Regions from separate parts of the Homo sapiens genome. Here region 2 is linked to region 1. Evidence: promoter capture Hi-C in 16 types of primary human blood cells and fetal thymus (Javierre and others, 2016). All regions are on one chromosome and are shown on one strand. The core of a region is centred on a gene start or on the middle of the fragment in contact, and the rest is flanking DNA. Distances in the headings are between cores, read along the strand shown.

Region 1 (3,555 bases), core at 864-3,363:
AAGCCACTGGAGTGAGTCTAGGAAAGGCAGAAAGCAGGGGGCTCTATCCTGAACTACGCTACCTATTGGAGAAAAAGAAAAGTTAACATTTAGGTTGTAAATTTTGTCCCTTACTTTCCTCAGCCATAAAATAAGAAAAAGAATAGTTCCTATCTTACAATGTCGTTATGGCTATTAAATGAACGAATACATATAAAGTACTTAGAACAGTGCTTGACAGAGTCTAAAGTGAAAATAAATGTTAGCTATGATTATCCATCCTTTTTATATCTTTGTAAACCCATCATGCCTGGCAAAGTGCCTTGCATGTACTGAGTTCAAAGTAAATGTTTATTAAATACAATCGAATTAAACCTAAGAATAAAGATAGTGAATAGGGTGAATGATTCAATCATCCTATAAAAATGCACTGAAGCCAGGCACGGTGGCACACACCTGTAATCCCAGCACTTTGGGAGGCCAAGGCGGGTGGATCACCTGAGGTCAGGAGTTCGAGACCAGCCTGACCAACATGGTGAAACCCCATTTCTACTAATTGCAAAAAATTAGCTGGGTGTGGTGGCACATGCCCTGTAATCCCAGCTACTTGGGAGGCTGTGGCAGGAGAATCGCTTGAACCCGGGAGGCAGAGGTTGCAGTGAGCCAAGATTGTGCCATTGCACTCCAGCCTGGGTAATACGAGCGAAACTGCGAACTGCGTCTAAAAAAAAAAAAAAAGGCACTGAATGTTTTTGCTGAGTGTCAAAAACTCTGCTAGACCTAGGGATAAGGGTGAACACCAAAGGAAGAGGTTTAAAATATGTCTTTGTTTTATTAACTTAAATCTATTTACTGAGTCCCCTTTAATGTGTCAGGCAATTTTCTTCTGTGTTTTTCTTTTAGGCTTATATATATAAGCCCTGATTGCAAATGCAACCCATTTTTTAAGCAATCCTGCCAGTGGAGGGAGCAGTGCAATTAATAAATCAGTATATCACATGATGTACACCAAAAAAGAATTCAAACTTTATTTTGAAATATATCATTTCACAAAAATTTAAATTCCTAACTAATCTTTCCCTTGGGCAATGTTAAAATCAGAGCCTGATCCAAAAAAGATAGACTAGAATTTGCCTTCCCCCCAAAAAAAAAACTCAAAAAGGGGAGAGAAAAAAATAAAAATAACTAAGTAAATGTTTTCTTTTTAGTTATAACGTATCTGCAGTCTTTCTTAAAAAGTAGAATATAGGCCGGGCGCGGTGGCTCATGCTTGCAATCCCAGCACTTTGGGAGGCCGGATCACTTGAGGTCAGGAGATGGAGACCCACATGGCCAACGTGGTGAAACCCCCGTCTCTACTGAAAATACAAAAATTAGCCAGGCGTGGCGGCGCGCGCCTGCTACTCGGGAGGCTGAGGCACGAGAATCGCTTGAACTCAGGAGGTGGAGGACGCAGTGAGCAGAGATCGCGCCACTACACTCCATCCAGCCTAAGCGACAGAACGAAACTCCGTATAAAAATTTAAAATAAAACACAATCTAATTGCTTCTATTCAGATGTATGGAAGGGAAACATGCTTCGGTCAGGTAGGATGCAAAGCTTGGAAACTACCTGCTTAAGCACGAGGCCAACGCATCTAAGCCAATAATGCAGGAGAAGTGGAGACAGCCTTGGGTTCCTGAAAAGGATCTGGTTGGTAAAGCTAAAGAGTGTGACCCGACGTCCCTCTGGCTGGGCCTGGGGACTTGAAGAGTGGTCAGGGGTCAGGCAGGAGTGCAAGGAACCGTACCGTGTTGGAAAAGGAGATTCCTGCGTCGGATCGCTGCACCCTGAGGAGCATCTGGTTGCCGTCATCCAAGAAGTTGTTGATTTCAAGACAGTTGCACAACAGTGGCTGATCCCAGAGTTCAGACATCAACCCGAAGTAATTCTGGGTAGTAGTGAAGATGAAGAGCTTCCGAACGTCCGCAGTCCCGTTCGCCATGATTGGAAGGGGTGGAGGGAAGTTGGGGGAAGGGGGAAGGAAGAAGAAACCAGTCCGGAGGGAAGTGAAGGGAAGAGAGGAGCTTTGCTCAAACCCGTAGCCCGACCGCGGGACCGCAGAGCTTCGCGGTTGCCAGGGGTAGTCGCTATGGCGACGGAGCACTACGGCGGCGTCGCTGGCGGCGCGCGGTGGGCGTTGCCCTCTCGGGGCACGCGCACGCAAAGCTCGCGGAGGCTATCGACCGCCTCGGAGCTCTTCAGCGGCTCCCTGCGGTCATCGATTGTAAGGGGTTCGGACAAGTTTATGTTGGCTCTCAAACATGTCTTTTATTCTTCTTACTGATTTCTTATCACGCATAATCAGAAGAGAGACATCTAGCCTTCAAGTACAGCAGCGTGATCTAGATTTAGGAGAGCTGGGTTCCAGTGCTCGCTCTCCACGTGCACCTGGTAGCAAACCAGTCTGTCAGCGTCAAGGTACACATCTGTTAAGAAGGGGAAATACTATCTCACAACCAGGGGTGTAGTGCGGATTGTAAAAGATTACTATTTAAAAATCGCTTTTTAGAGAAGCTTATAAAGACTAGGAATTCAATACAATGTTAATTTACTTTCTCAGTCGCCCTCTGCTCCTTTCTGTGCTGCTGCATTTCCCAACATCGTTTTTTCTATTATTAATTTTAGAATAATTTAACCAGCAATTTTTTATTGCAATCATTACCCGAGCACAACCATATTTGTAAAATAGCTAAAATGTAAAATGATACTTTTTAGTTTATTTTATAACAACCGCAACCAAATTCTGTGAAAATACAGATATGAAAACGGTCTTTGTCATTTTCTACTTCATGGCATTACTATAAACTACTAAATTGCTGGTCATTCATCCGAACATTCGTCAAACACTTTCTCAATTCAGTAATTCTCTTCTAAAAATATTTACTACATGCTATTAGGTTGGTGCAAACGTAATTGCGGTTTTTTGGCAAGAACTGTAATTACTTTTGCACCAATCTAACACAATTTGCCAAGTACCGAACTAGGCCCTGGGGACACAGTTCCTGCCCTCAGGAAGTTTTTGCTGTAGTCATTCATCACCTCAGCACTGGTTTGACCCAAGATCCTAGGGTACACAAACATATGCAGATTTTTTTTGTTTGCACTTAATAATCATAACCTCCCCTTAAAACTATACTATTTGAGAATTGGAAGGAGAGAGTCCTTTTATTTGCTGAGCAACTTAAGATTTTGGAGTGGGAACTTAAAAAAGCTGAACTGCTCTAAATTATAAAAGGAAATGAATGTAAATTCTCATGAAATATCCAAACAGTGAGAGATGGGAGTCTGGCCACTGGATGGGAAAACATCCAAACAGTGAGGTGGGATGCTGACCACTGGGTGAGGGAAAAAATCCTAACAGGAACCCAAGATGACTGTGTAGCTAATAAAAAGATTTTGAAAGCCAAAGTGACCACTATGGTTACAGAGTTTCCTGCTCTGCAATGAGCATTATCACTCTTACCAAGGTCTTCAGGAAAGTCTCCATTACCCACAAGTGCTCGGTTTGGTGAGTTGTTTTGGTGGAAATGTAT
Region 2 (3,107 bases), core at 410-2,909, 2.4 Mb after region 1:
TCCACAGCCTCACACAGATGCTGTACTAATAATACATTGATGCTATTGTTTATCAATATGTTTCCACTCAGGCCCATCATTGCATTTACATGGAATTAGGATTTTTTCTCCTACCCTTCACTCATGATTCCCTAAAGTTTATCATGTTATAATGGGCTTATTTCTTGTAGGTGTTTTCATAGTTACTCATGCTTATTCCTATGATTCATACTTTAATTATACCTGCTAGTCAGGCTTTCTCTTATGCCACATTAACACAGCTACTTGAGAAAAACCAGAAATGCTTTTGCTTTGAGGTGGGTTTACTGTCGGTTTTGAACTGTTGTTTCCATGCATGATTCTCTCCATCATAATTAACTGAACCAGATTCTTTCCTAGAGAATAGACTTTCTATATAAAAGATCAGCAATACCTGCAAGCCTGTTTTCATAAACAAATGTAATGGATTGAAATATAGCCTGTCCAGAAATTTCCACTTCATAACACATGACACCGTAAGCTGCGTGGTAAGCTTCGCAAATATTATTGGCTGACAGGCTCTTTGGCACAGAGAAATGTCTCTTTGTTTTCCTGATTCTGGAATGGGATATGTGGGCTTTGTTTACTTGCTTTTGAGAGCAAATAGATAGTAGAGGATAGTAAACTAATATGGCATTTGTAAATCTGCCTAAAACTGTTTCTTGACGTAGATCATGTCTGACACTTAAGCCTGGCACTTCGTATGTACTCAGTAAGTGTTATTGTCAAGCTATTATTACTTTTCAATTAATTATGTAGATTTAGACCACCCAGACTCAGCTGATCTGAGGTTAAGTTCAAGCCTGGTAAGAGATGACTAAACAGAAACCAAGTGTTTCTTCTTGGTTTCCCCTCCTCCCAGCTCCTGGTAACCATTGTACTTTCTGTCTCTATGAATTTGACAATGTAGGTATCTCATATAAATGAAATTATACAATATTTGCACAATGTGTCTGTCTTATTTCACTTAGATGATTCAGTCATCAAAAAGAGAAGCAAAGAAGAAATAAGAATTAGATATACATTTAAAACCCATATGAGGAGCCAGGCCTGGTAGCTCAGCCTGTAATCTCAGCACTTTAGGAGGCCCAGGTGGGCATTTCACCTGGAGTTCGAGACCAGCCTGGCCAACATGATTAAACCCCATCTCTACTAAAAATAGAAAAATTAGCTGGGTGTGGTGGTGTGCACCTGTAATCCCAGCAGGTACTAGGGAGGCTGAGGCACGAGAATTGTTTGAAGCCAGGAGGCAGAGGTTGCAGTGAGCCAAGGTTGTGCCACTGCACTCCAGCCTGGGCAATGGAACGAGACTCTGTCATCTTAAACAGATAAAAATTTTAAAAAACCCAAAACAAATAAACAAAAAGAAACAAGCATTTGAACCTACTTAATTTTTGACTTAATTTTCTAAAATACTCTTCTGACAGCCAAAAAATGAAGTTCAGATTAAGCCCTTAGAGGGCGAGATCTTTTTATTCTGCCTTATTAGAAGTATTATTATTGTCACACACAATGCTCTTAACATCACTATTTCTCAAAAAATTAGTTGGTGTATGACACTGCATTTCTGATGGGCAAATGTACACATCATTAGTGACAGGAGCCTATGTGACTTAGTAACATTGTCTTTTCCAGTTTAAAAAAAATGCTCTCACAAATTGTAGAGCCCCTCTCAAATGCATACAGCTCTCCCTGCTTCCTCTCCATGGTTGTCATGAAGCACAGACAAATGCTAAATGTAGTCCGGGTTGAAAAAGAAACTTCGCTTTGTCTGGGGGTAGGAAATGGGAGTCTCTCACAGGAAGAGTACAGAACATAGCCCACATTGTATGAGTCTATGGATTCCAAGAGCTCATTATCCAATAGATGGACTAAAGAGCAATGGTTGGAAGACCAAAAAGTCAAATGACTGAGAGATGAGAAAAGAGAATTTAGACGGGGTAAGTACACATGAGATTGGGCAACAGATGGGCAGTAAGCAGATTAAATAAAGGAAGGAAATATAGTGTGATTTTTGTGGATGAGGTAGAATCCAACATAACTCTGAGATTTAAGCCTATACAACTCAGAAGTGTTATTTTTTTTAGAAGAAATATACATTTTAGGTTGAGTCTCCTATGCTGAGTTTGAGGTAAAGTTAGAATAATTAAGAGGCACTTTCTCAGAAAGAAAAGTGCAGCACAAACACTCAGGGCTGTTGTGTTAGCTTAACGGAGGGGGACACAGAAGCAGAAGTCAAGGTCAACTAGAGGGGAAGAATAGCTGCAGAGAGTGGAATTTGTTCTATGTGACAATATGACTCCTTTTTTCTAAGAGATGGTGTCTGGCTATGTTGCCCAGGCTGGTCTTGAACTCCTAAACTCAAGCAATCCTCCCACCTCAGCCTCCCAAAGTGCTAGGATTACAGGTGTGAGCCACTGCACAATATAACTTCTAAAGTCCCTGCCAAATCTAGATTTTATTATGATGACAGATTTCGGATGAATGGGTTGAAGGAAAAGAACAGAAGTCTAAGCAAGAAATACTCAACAACTAACTACATTTATGAGGGGTGGGGAGAAGGAAAAAGGAGAGGGAGAGAGGTAATCACTTAATTTAGGAAAAGACATTTTTTAGCACAGATTTTGATTTCAATTTAGTATTGCCCTCTTGTGGCAAATCATGATGTTTGCTAACTCTGACAGAAAACTTCATAAAGAGCACAGGAAAAGGAGACAAAATGAAAAGAAGCAGCCTCCACCAATACTGGGCATGATAGTTTTTGCATGTATTGCCCCATCTAAGCTTATCCACAAGCATGTGAAATAGGTATTAAATCTGATTAGCCCCACTTTTAAAGTTTTATTTATTTCTTTATTTTGAGATGGAGTTTCGCTCTTGTACCATAGGCCGGAGTGCAATGGCGCCATCTCGGTTCACTGCAACCTCCGCCTCCCAGGTTCAAATGATTCTTCTGCCTCAGCCTCCCGAGTAGCTGGGATTACAGGCACGTGCCACCATGCCTGGCTAATTTTTGTATTTTTAGTAGAGATGGGGTTTCACCGTGTTGGCCAGGCTGGTCTCGAACTCCTGACCTCAGGTGATCTGCC

The links. The method cuts DNA at HindIII sites, captures the fragments that hold promoters and counts their contacts. A CHiCAGO score of 5 or more calls a contact.
Region 2: a fragment that was not itself captured here is called in contact with the fragment with the promoter of DYNC2H1 in region 1 in 1 of 17 cell types (total B cells); the score reaches 5.1 in total B cells.

The regions. Positions count from the first base shown.
Region 1 is chr11:103,107,984-103,111,538 of GRCh38, reverse strand. It overlaps DYNC2H1 (dynein cytoplasmic 2 heavy chain 1), which reads right to left and starts at 2,113. Exons shown (of 89, transcript NM_001377.3): 1 at 1,770-2,113. The coding sequence starts at 1,964. RefSeq lists enhancers at 2,281-2,330, 2,401-2,520. The HindIII fragment of the contact is 957 bases long and covers 1,582-2,538 here.
Region 2 is chr11:100,682,017-100,685,123 of GRCh38, reverse strand. It overlaps ARHGAP42-AS1 (ARHGAP42 antisense RNA 1), which reads left to right. Exons shown (of 2, transcript NR_133571.1): 2 at 1-963. Among named protein-coding and RNA genes, the nearest start is that of ARHGAP42, 3.7 kb to the left of the region's middle. The HindIII fragment of the contact is 2,291 bases long and covers 514-2,804 here.